Linked DNA regions of Homo sapiens: all the other regions are linked to region 3. The links are contacts of gene promoters, found by promoter capture Hi-C in blood cells and fetal thymus (Javierre and others, 2016). All regions are on one chromosome and are shown on one strand. The core of a region is centred on a gene start or on the middle of the fragment in contact, and the rest is flanking DNA. Distances in the headings are between cores, read along the strand shown.

Region 1 (3,767 bases), core at 299-2,798, 400 kb after region 3:
TACCACCACTGCAACAGTTCAAAACCACAAGAGAAAATAGAAGAATAAAAAAACAGGAAACAATCCTGCGTGGGTTGTTTCTTCAAGTTTTGACCCCTCTCCACAGTCTGCTTGCTTTTGTTGACTTTTCAGAGCCCTCAGTTAGTTGCTTTTTTTGTATATGGTCTATAGTTTTTAATTCCTATCAGTGAGAGAAAGAGAAAAGGTACAGTGGGCATACTCCATCTTGGCCAACACCTGCAATTTATTCTGGGTTTTTTGGGGTTTTTTTTACCCTTATGATAATACTTTTTAAGGCTAGTTAAATGAAGCAGTGGTAGGAATGGAGAATCTCTTCTGATAATACTTAAAACTGTGGCAGCAGCATAGGAAGTTTACTTTTCAAACTTCTGCCAGCTTTGCTAAAGTACAATGTCATGTCATATGCAACTTCATTTCATATAGGTCAGGAGAAACCGTATATGTGTGTGCGTGCACGTGCGCGCATGCATGTGTATAGAAAAAGAGACACAGTGATAAAATAGATGTGGCACAGTGTTAACAATTGGTGGGTCAAGTTTTCTAATAAAAAGTTAGTGGGAAAACTCTAATCTTAATAAACTCTGTGATCTTAGTCTTAATAACCCTAACCTGATCCTCAGATCAACTTAATGGTGATTTTCAGAATAATTTAAATTGGTCAAACTTGGGCATTTAAAGGGAGAGTTAAATAATTCTAGCCAAAACTTTTCATGATCTTAAGGTGACTCTCTTTACTTCTGAGAGAATAAACATGTTCTTTGGGATATTTCTGCATTCTTCCCCCAGCCTGCTCTTCTAATTTGTTTACTTTAACAAATTGGAAATTTTGAGTCTGGTAAAATAGTGGTCACCTCACTAAAAGTTGTGCATTCTGCTACTTTAGACAATTCCAAGCTCGAGTGTCTCGGCAAACTCTGTTGGCACTTGAGAAAGAAGAAGAGGAGGAAGTTTTTGAGTCTTCTGTACCACAACGAAGCACACTAGCTGAACTAAAGAGCAAAGGGAAAAAGACAGCAAGAGCTCCAATCATCCGTGTAGGAGGTGCTCTCAAGGGTAAGTTTGTTAAACGTTATTTCGGAAAACTGTTAGTTTCTAGTGGTAAAATCATGTAAGAAGATAATACATAAATATACCTGTGGACACTTCTAGTTTGCTGAATACTGAGTAGCAAAAAGAAGGAAGTCAAAGGAGAGCTAATATTACAGTGTGCAGTAAAATCAAAATGCATCAGTAATTTTGTGTCTTAATTAAGAAAGACCTAACATTTAGGAAGCATCAAGATTTTCTGAGTTTGAATTGTTAGTTGAAAGAAGATATGTAGTAACATAGCAGGTGTTGTTAAAGTGAAGCTTACATATACCAAAGCCTCAGAGAATGATACTAATATGGTTAAGAACCCTGCCTTCAGAGCCCTTTGGGACCAGAAATTAGACTCTCTATATACCCAAAGATCAGCAATAATTTTTTTTAATTAACATGGACTTTTTTTTTTTTTGAGAGATAGGTTCTCGCTCTGTTGCCTGAAACGTGGTAGTGCAATCATAGCTCACCGCAGCTTCAAACTCCTAGGCTCAAGCAGTTCTTTTGCCTCAGCCTCCCAAGTAGCTAGGATTATAGGTGTGAGCCACTGCATCTGGACAACACTGACTATTTTTTAGAGTAGTTTTAGGTTCATAGCAAAATTGAGCAGAAGGTACAGAGAATAATAAGCTTTTATTTACTAAATTTATAGCAGTTAGACATGTAAACCAGGCTGTTTTTTTAATCTCTTATTTCTTTCCTGGTATCAATTTATCAATAATCAGAATGTTACTTGGTGGTTCTAGAATTAGGATATAGGGAGTGTATGGTCCCAAAGGCTATTTCATCCAGATCATGATGAAGCTTGGTTAATAACCAGCCCCACAACAGAGAAAACCCCTAATAAATGGGTTAATTTTGTATTCTCTAGTTCCAGTATATCTCTGCTGATTTCCATTGAGAGAAAATTTAAAACTGAAGAATAAAACTTAGGTTAGTTTCTGATAAAACTAGATAATGTTATAATGATGACTGAAGGAAGATGCAGAATGTCTTTTTTGGAAATTTGTGAATAAAAGATGTGGGGTGACTGGAGGAGGGAAAAGAAGGCAGAATATAAGTAACAAAGAATGGATAAAACGATTCTATTTTTGATTTATTAATTTTTTTAAAGATTATTTTTAAAATTTCTTTTTTTTTTTCTGTTGTAGTGGAAATACTGTCCTTGAGTTGAGGAAGAATAGGTATACTTTATCTGGCATCTAAGTTAATAATGAAACATTTTACATGAGGTTTTAATATTTTTGCTCCTAGCTCCAAGCCAGAACAGAGGACTCCAAAATCCATTTCCTCAACAGATGCAAAATAATAGTAGAATTACTGTTTTTGATGAAAATGCTGATGAGGCTTCTACAGCAGAGTTGTCTAAGCCTACAGTCCAGCCATGGATAGCACCCCCCATGCCCAGGGCCAAAGAGAATGAGCTGCAAGCAGGCCCTTGGAACACAGGCAGGTCCTTGGAACACAGGGTAAGGACTCTTAGATCCAGTGCTTTGCTGACACAACAAAGACTTCACATTTAGGGTAGAGAAGTATTTTTACCATCTCTTTTAATTCCTCTTGAATATTTAGCCATGGTCTATATATGCTGTCTGAGAACATAAAACTATGGTAATTTTAGTTTTCTTCTTCATCTCCAGCCTCGTGGCAATACAGCTTCACTGATAGCTGTACCCGCTGTGCTTCCCAGTTTCACTCCATATGTGGAAGAGACTGCACGACAGCCAGTTATGTGAGTGTGGTTTTTGGATATTTTGAAGTGGGAATTATTAAGGGTGGGCAGAGGCACCTATTCTACTTCCCAAAGGCAGTTTCTTCTTTATGAAGATGAAAGTAACCAGGCCAGGCGCAGTAGCTCACACCTGTAATCCCAGCACAGGCTGAGGCAGGAGGATCCCTTGAGCCTAGGTGTTCAAGACCAGCCTGGGCAGCCTAGTGAGACCCTGTCTCTATTTATTAAAAAAAAAAGTAACCAGACAAAATTTTGTATATCCTTTATGTTTGTATTCCTTTGAGTATGTTAGGGTTAAAAGACCATTTGTTAATATTTTATTAAGGAATAAACATTAATTAGGTTTATATTTTCATTACTGAACATTGCTTTAGGAAAATCAATGGTGGCTATTCTGGAAGATGGATTGAACATACATAAATAAGCTATTGGAATAGTTCAGGCAAGGATATTAAGGGGCGGTATTTGGGCAGGGTAGTGGTAATGAAAGGAGAAGGGAGCTTGGATGGGAGAGGCTTCAGCAGTAGAGTTAGAAGATTTGTCTGATGGGATAATGGGGATGTAGGGAAAAGATAATGTGATTTAAATGAGACGTTCTCATTTTGTCATTGATAGTAATGAGAAATTATGATAGTTTTCCCTCTTATCCTGCTTTTTCCTTCTGGACATATTTTTCCTCTTTCTTCCTAATCCTTAGCATTTCTGTTTTTAAGAAAAAGTATAGTAGCTGGTGGTTAAATAAACAAGCCAGCCTGAGATTTAGTCTAATGCTTAACATTGCCTAGTTCTTTTTTTTTTTTTTTTTTTTTTTTTGAGATGGAGTCTCGCTGTGTCGCCCAGGCTGGAGTGTGGAGTGCAGTGGTGCGATCTGGGCTCACTGGAAGCTCTGCCTCCCAGGTTCACGCCATTCTCCTGCCTTAGCCTCCCAAGTAGC
Region 2 (4,172 bases), core at 696-3,195, 380 kb after region 3:
GCGGAACAAAGAGTTTGGAAGTTGCAATGTTGTCTGTTTGTAACTCAGCTCAGCCACCTGCTAGTTGTTTGACCTTGGGCAAATCGTTTGTATGGAAAATGCTGATGTTAATGCTGCCTTACGTGGTTCTGGGGGAATTCAAAGTATTTGTTAAGTAACTGCTTCCAAATAAGCGCTCAACAAATGGCAGGTGCTATGCCAATAGCACAGAGATCTGAAAGCCTTTAGCCAATATCATAGAGATCTAAATTATGCCAATAACATAGAGATCTAAAAGCCTTTTTCTGCATGTTTGCGGCTTTTCCTTGTATTAAAAAAACTATATTGCAGTTCTAGGTTGGAAATCTGTATGTGTTTTCACTGTGGTGCCCGCAATACCTAGATAAGTGCTATGTCATGGGCTCTTTCATTCATGTAACAAGTATTTTTTTGGCTAAGCTCTGAGTGCAGCAAATATACAGACACAAAAATCTCAACCCTCATGAAGCTTAAGTTCTGGCATGGGATGAAGGTGGGGGAGTCAGACAATAAAGACAAACTGTTAGGTGGAGATGTGGTCAGTACTAAAAAAAATAATAAAGCAACTGGGTGTAGTGAATATTGGGGGTGGGGATTGGTGCAATTTAACTTGAACACTGGAGTCTCACTGAGGAGATGTCACTTTGGTCAAGACTTGAAGGAATCTCAAAAGCTAGAGGTTCTATATCTGAGGAGAGTACAAAGGCTGAGGGTGAGAGCTAGGGGAGGAAGTTGCACCTGGCATGTCCAAGGCCATTGTCACTGGAGCAGAATTAACTAGAAGAGTAAAAGGATATTATGTAAAAATGGTGAAGATGCAGATTGTAAGGACTTAGCTTTTACTCTAGTTGTAATCAAAAGTCATTGGAAGGTTTTGAGCAAAGGAAAGACATAATCTGACTTGGGTTTAAATGGGGTCACTTTGGCTGTAGTGTTGAATACACTAAAGGCAGCAAAGGATGGAAGCAAGGGACACCAGTTAAGAGGTTATTGAAATAATTCAGCTCAAAAGTGAGTTGAGCCAGGTGGAAAACAGTGGAGATGATGATAAGTGGTTGATTTCTGTATATATTTTGAAGGTAGAACCAGTAGGACTTGCTGACTGACTGAGGGGTATGAGAAGGGCATCAAAGTTGGCACTAAGATTTTTGGCTTGGGTAACTGAAGAATGGGATTGCCATTTATTTGAGAAAGAGGAAGACTGTGGGAGGAGCAGGTCTGGGAGGAAGTGGGGGCAGTCTTAGCTCAATTTGGGATATTTAACTGAGATAGTGTAATTCACTATTTTTAAGAGCAAGAGAAGAAAGTTCAGATGAATTCAACAAACAGGGCATAATAGTGTTATATCTCGTATTAGATCATGGGCATACAAAAATAAATGGCATAGCCCTTACCTTTACAGAGTTCACACAATATAGAGCAGGTCCTGGTATAACATCGTTTCGTTATAATGTTGATGAGAAAAAAAATCAATTCATTGCGGGGCTGCTGTGTATGTGGAGTTTTCATGTTTTCCGCATGTCTGCATGGGTTTCCTTAGGTACTCCAGTTTCCTTCTACATCCCAAAGATGTGCCTGTTAATTGGCGTGTCTAAATGATCCCAGTCTGAATGGGTGTGAATGTGATGCTCCCTGTGATGGAGTGGTGTCCTGTCCAGGGTTGGTTCCTCTCTGAGTTGCTGAGATGGGCTCTGGCCACCCTCAACCCCGAACTAGAATAAGTGAGTTGGAAAATGAATGAAGGAATGAATACAAATTACTGTAAAATAAAAATCTGTAAAGGCTGGGAGCGGTGGCTCACACCTGTAATCCCAGCACTTCGGGAGGCTGAGGCAACAGGATTGCTTAAGCTCAGCGGTTCAAGACCAGCCTGGGCAACATAGTAAGGCCTGTCTCTATTTAAAAAGTTTATATAAAGTGTGTATGATAATCATATAAATGCATGACAATAAACAATGCCTTATGAAAGTGCCCAGCATGCCCACTATAGTGTTACTATTTGTTTTTTGAACTTTGTGGTGGTAGGAGGTACTTCTTGAAATTTTCACTCTCAAACATTTATTCCTTGAGTTAACCCACCAACACTATGACTGCAGTCATTCACTGATTCGCCAAAAATTGGGTAAATGATTATTTTTTGTTTTCATTAAATGTTCTTAAGTGTACGGATAGCTCACATTTATTTCAATATTTAGTATTAAAAATGTTTGTTTCGAGTCTTTATTCAGAAGTTTGGTGACGTTTTTGTGACCAGAAATATGCCATAGGAACTTAACTTTTGTTTATGTCGATCAGCCTGTGGTAAAATTGGTTTTGTTACATGTCATTTTGATTAAAGTCATAGTTTCCAAGAAGCTGTCTCCAACGAGTTTTCAGTGCTCATCTAGACTGAAGTCACATATAACTTTCACTCTATTTCAAAGATTAGTGCCAATGTGTCTCTCTTTTTGTTTTAAGTCCAGAGGTAATGTCTCTTAGAAATAGTCTTCTATCTAACCATTGCAGGGCTCTGAATTGCAGAATACGTAATGGGAATTACCTCCAAAACGTTTCGGGGGTTTTCTCAGTAGGCTTGCTAGAATTGGGTGTGAGGATGCAGGGAATTGTGACTAGTAAACTGTGTTTGTTTGCTTCTGCTTTTAGCTACTTATATGTACAAACTTCAGTTTTGAATCATCATTGAAACATGGGACATTAGTCTCACCCACACTTTGCTAATTTTAATGTTTTTTTTTTGAGACAGGGTCTTGCTCTGTTGCCCAGGCTGCAGTGCAGTGGTGTGATCATGGCTCACTGCAGCTTCGACCCCTGAACCCAAGCAATGCTCCCACCTCAGTCTTCTAAGTAGCCACGACCATGGGCGTGTACCACCACGCCTGGCTAATTTTTCACTTTTTGTAGAGATGGGGGTCTTCCTATGTTGCCCAGGGTGGTGTTGAACTCCTGGGCTCAAGCACTTCTCCTGACTCAGCCTCCCAAAGTGGTAGGATTACAGGCATGAGCTACCACATCCGGCACTAATTTTAAATTAAACTAGATGATGCATTCAATGGTAGGCATAGAATTACTTGTTGCCTTTTTGTCTACTTTGCCAAATTTATAACACTTTTGTTCCCTTCTTTTCTTTCTGCCTTAAGCCCTATTCATTTTTCTTTTTTTTTTTTTTTTTAAAGAAAGAGGCAGGGTCTTGCTATGTTGCCCAGGCTGGTATCAAACTCCTGGCTCAAGAAATCCTCCCACTTCGGCCTCACAAAGTGGTGGGATTACAGGTGTGAGCCACCGCACATAGCCATGCCCTATTCTTATAGTACTGTCTACGATATCCTTGCCAAGTTGTCTTCTATCAGGCAATACTGTAGCCATAAACTTGAAAAACAGCTAACAAAGAAGCTTAGGCATATAATAATAATAATAATTATGTGTCAGTCCACTATATTCAACCCAAGACCATGAATAATCACCTTTCGGAAGACATTTACAATAATCTAGTGCTATAATAGTCAATGTTGGTATGAGATTTACATTTGTTTCCTTCTTCACAGTGAAGCCATGTCCCTGGAGGGAGATGAATGGGAACTGAGTAAAGAAAATGTACAACCTTTAAGGCAAGGGCGGATCATGTCCACGCTTCAGGGAGCACTGGCACAAGAATCTGCCTGTAACAATACTCTTCAGCAGCAGAAACGGTGTGTAGAATGGCTGAGTCTCAACCTGTCGTCATTCATCCTAAATGTTGTAGATAACGTGGGTGTGGATCCATGAGAGATGGCATAATGAGTACTTTTCAAAAATTGGTAGTATGAGAATCTGTTCTCTACCTGCTTTCGTATCACATGACAGCTATCTGAAGATGTCCTCAGGTATAATTAAGAACAAGGGCTATAGGATTTCATTTCACTGTGGTGCAGCGAAACTCTTTTTATCAATAGAAATACATTTTATACAGGGGGCAGTGATAAGCATAGTAAAGCAAGTATTATATTGCAATGCTTCCCAAAAGTATTATGTTAGGAACTTATTTTTGAGAGTATGACAAAAAAAGAAGTGGTCTCCAAAGACATGTAAACCTCAGAACAATTGAATTTATACCAGAAAGTTCTCAATAATTTTAACAAACTCTGGATAAATAAAAGCTGAAAAATACTCTTATGTTA
Region 3 (3,784 bases), core at 1,050-3,549:
TTTATCTATTTTTCTATATCACCATTTATAGATATACGTCATGCTTTCAAACAACAGCATAATATCCCATAGATGCAGCACTTTTTTCATCAGTTCACTTAGGTGGTATATAGAATATTTGCTATTAAAAGCAATTCTAAAACTTGCTCAAAATGTATCACAGACCTAAAGTAAAACTTCACACTATAAAATTTTCTTTTTGTCGTTGTTATTGTTATTGTATTTGTAGTAAAGACAGGTTTCACTATGTTGGCCAGGCTGGTCTCGAACCCCTGACCTCAAGTGATCTGCCTGCCTCAGCCTGTCAAAGTGCTGGGATTACAGGGGTGAGCCACCGTGCCTGGCCAAAACTATAAAATTTCTAAAAAATACATGTGACTGTGGGTTAGGCAAAAATTTCTTAGATACAACATCAAAGGCATGATTCATAAAAGAAAATATGGATAAATTGGAAGGCATCAAAATTTAAAACTTGTAGTCTTCAAAAGATGTTAAGACAAGGAAAACAAAACCCAAAGACTAGGAGCAAATATTTGCAAAACACATATCTGACAAAGGACTCATATCCAGAATATATAAACAAGTATCAAGACTCAATAACAAGAAAACAAAGGATTTGGACACACACATCACCCCAGATGATGTACGGATGGCAAAAGAGCACATGAAAAGATGTTCAACATCATTACCCCTCAAAAAAATAAAATAAAAATCACAATGAGATACCACTACACACCTATTCAAATGACAAAAATTAATTTTTTAGAAAACTGACAATACCAAGTGCTGACAAAGTTGGAGAGCAACTGTAACACTCATATTGCCAATGACAATGCAAAATCATCACTTTTCAAAACTGCTTAGCAGTTTCTTATAAAGTTAAACATATATTTACCATATGACTCCACAATCTCATTCATATTTACCCAAGAAATGAAAACATATTCACACACACAAAAAAAAACCTGTACATGAATATTTATACCAGCTTCATCAATAATAGCCAACAACTGGAAAGAACTCATCCAAATATGCCTCAAGTAGGAAATGGATAAATATACTACCGTAGATCCATACAATGGACTATTACTCAGCAACATAAAGGAACAACTGATACACAGAACATGAATGAATAGCAACTGCATGATGCTAAGCTGAAAGAAGCCTGATTCAAAAGGCCACAGGGTGTTTGCTTCCATCAATATGACATTCTGGAATAGGCAAAATTACAGGAACAAAAAACTAGGAAGTTGTTGCCAGGGATGGCGTTAGGGGAGGGATTAAATACAAAGAGCACTAGGGAATTTGGGGTTCATGATGAAACTTCCGTATGCTGATTGTGGTGGTTGGTAATTACATAACTGTATACATTTGTCAAAACTCACAGAACTGTAGATTAAATGGGTGAGGCTTACCATAAGTAAGTTATACCTCAATTTTAAGTTAATATATTTGTGCCAATCTTTCTTTAGTTATGCTCATACATCCATAAAATATATTAGAATTGCTGAGTCAAAGAACACTTATGTTTCAAATTTTGGTAGTTCGCCAAATTGTACTCCAAAAAGGCTGCACCAAATTACACTACTTCCCCTACACTGGGCTGGGGCCCATCTGGTTATGTCAAAGCTGTTTCATCTTCTCCAGTCTCATAGGTGTAAAAGGTATCTGTGAATTTGGTTTACATTTCTTCACGAGAAAAGTTGAGTCTCTAATCAATTGTTTGCTGTTTGCATCTTTTTATTTTTCCTGTGAAATGCCTATTTGCATCCTTTGCCGTTTACGGTCTAGTTTAAATGGCTGGTGATCAGTTCTAGATCTTGGTGGGAAGATCCAAATCTCGGGAAAGTAGAAGCCTTGGTTACAGGTCCTAATGTTAGGTGATTCCTGGAGAAATAGCCTCCGCGGAGGCAGAAGCCGCTGGGGCCCCGCCCCCAATGAGCCCGCCCCCGCCCTCTCATTGGCCCTGTCCGCTCTCCCTGACAGTCCATCTACATGCCAAGCGGCCCGACGCAGCTCCGCCCCGCCCACTCCTCGGCGCACCGCCCCGCGACCGAGCTCCGCCCTCATCTGCGCGGCCCCTCACCTTCCCGCCGGGCCTCCTCGAGGAACTGGCCGCCGTCAGTCAGGGCGCAGATGGCCGCAGAAGCGCGCCGCAGACACTCGCCGCGCCAGCCACTTACCCCCAGAGGAGAGGGGTCTCTCCCGCCACCTCAGCCTCTCTGGTAGTGGAAGAAGCCGCCGGTCCAGATCCCTCCTGCCTGTGGGACCGCTGTTTCCCTGGCAACCAGATGCGCGATGCTTCCGGTCTCGCGATAGCGGAAAGGGCTGTACCATCCGGAAATGGGACCGGGGCCGGCGGCTGTTGGAGCCCTGCGAGCTGGGACGGCCGGCGTGTGTCCTTCCGTCTTCGCTGCCGACGGTGGGGGTTGGGAGCGATTTTTCGTCTTTAGGTTGGATTCGGAACGCGGACGTCTGGATGCTTGTGTATCTCTGTCCCTCATATTGCTGTGATGCCTTACAGGTCAGTTATCCTCTCCGAGCACAGTTTCCTCCTCCGTAAAATGGGAACAATAATAATTCCCTTCTTACAAGACTTGTGCAGCTCAAAAAGACCATGTATGTGAAGCTCTAGTAAATTTGGGGTGCTATGGAAATTTTAAAAATATGAGTTTTGCACAGATTCGGCTACAGTCCAAAAAGAGTTATAATTGCTTTTTGCACCTTCTTTCATTTCGTAGTTTCTCTAATTCTCAGTGCACGAAAATTATTTCCCTACGTCCACAAACTGATTTTCCTCACCTCCATTGCCATCATTTCTCCTGCTTTCCAGTCTGAACAGCACATTACCGTTTACAGGGCATTTTCACATTCATGGCCCCTTTGTCCTCATTGTTTTAACTAGGTACGATGTGGTTTTTTTTCAGCGAAGCAAATAGTCGTAGGCTGAGTTGCCGAAAGAACACAGCTGCAGTCTAGGCGAGTGCTGGGTATAAAAACCTGGCTATAAATGCCATCCCTATGCTCCTGAATCCTGCATCTTATCACCAGCCCAGACTTCCCTGAACTCCAGACTCCTTTACCTAACTGCCTATTTGGCATATCCACTTAGATGTGTAAGCATCTCAAACTTAACACGGGAAAAAACAACTTCTCCAGAGTCCCCCACCCACTTTCTATCCATCTCAGCAAATGGTAATTTCAGCCTGCCATGCCTAGACCAAAAACCTTGGAGTCATCCTCAATTCTTCTTCCTCTCTCACTCTACAATCTATTTGTCCTATCAGCTCAACATTCAAAATATATTCAGAATCCAAACATTCGTCACAACTTCAGTGCTTCCATTCAGGTTCATACTGACATCATCTCTAAATGATAAGGCTTTCTGTTGGCTCTCTGACCTCCACTCCTACCTACTGCTTTCCCCTGGTAAACCTGGTTCCAGCCTCACTGTCCTCATTGTTAGTGTTTCTGTGCAGGGATTTCTTCCCAGCATTTCTCAGGGAATTTATGTGGCTTTCCAAATCTCAAAAGAAAAAAAGTTGCAAACTGAAGAAAATGGGAGAAAGTATCCTAATCCTCCTATGAGAATTAAAACTTAGCAGCCGACCTAGAGATGTTACTGAAGAAATTCACCAATGTCAAGTTGAAAACCAGCACAGGAAATGCTGAGTTCGAGGTTGAGGTGAACATTTTCAGGAACCAGGTCAGGAGCACTTGGGAGAGACATGGCCACAATCTCATCAGTCAGTCTTGTTTGTAGTTGGTGCCATGAAAGCCTATG

Evidence for each region. Contacts are between HindIII fragments. The CHiCAGO score rates a contact against its expected background, and 5 or more counts as called.
Region 1: a fragment that was not itself captured here is called in contact with the fragment with the promoter of FSIP1 in region 3 in 1 of 17 cell types (naive B cells); the score reaches 5.1 in naive B cells.
Region 2: a fragment that was not itself captured here is called in contact with the fragment with the promoter of FSIP1 in region 3 in 1 of 17 cell types (neutrophils); the score reaches 7.3 in neutrophils.

The regions. Positions count from the first base shown.
Region 1 is chr15:40,182,810-40,186,576 of GRCh38, forward strand. BUB1B (BUB1 mitotic checkpoint serine/threonine kinase B) reads left to right here. Exons shown (of 23, transcript NM_001211.6): 6 at 905-1,074; 7 at 2,356-2,570; 8 at 2,742-2,833. All of the region lies in intron 1 of LOC107984763 (a long non-coding RNA gene), which reads right to left. Among named protein-coding and RNA genes, the nearest start is that of BUB1B, 24 kb to the left of the region's middle. The HindIII fragment of the contact is 361 bases long and covers 1,369-1,729 here.
Region 2 is chr15:40,161,493-40,165,664 of GRCh38, forward strand. BUB1B (BUB1 mitotic checkpoint serine/threonine kinase B) reads left to right here. Exons shown (of 23, transcript NM_001211.6): 2 at 3,561-3,704. Among named protein-coding and RNA genes, the nearest start is that of BUB1B, 2.5 kb to the left of the region's middle. RefSeq lists an enhancer at 1-732. The HindIII fragment of the contact is 2,921 bases long and covers 486-3,406 here.
Region 3 is chr15:39,780,542-39,784,325 of GRCh38, forward strand. FSIP1 (fibrous sheath interacting protein 1) reads right to left here and starts at 2,300. Exons shown (of 12, transcript NM_152597.5): 1 at 2,087-2,300. It overlaps LOC105370941 (a long non-coding RNA gene), which reads left to right and starts at 2,365. Exons shown (of 1, transcript NR_135665.1): 1 at 2,365-3,784. RefSeq lists a silencer at 1,930-2,109 and an enhancer at 2,410-2,539. The HindIII fragment of the contact is 7,042 bases long and covers 1-3,784 here.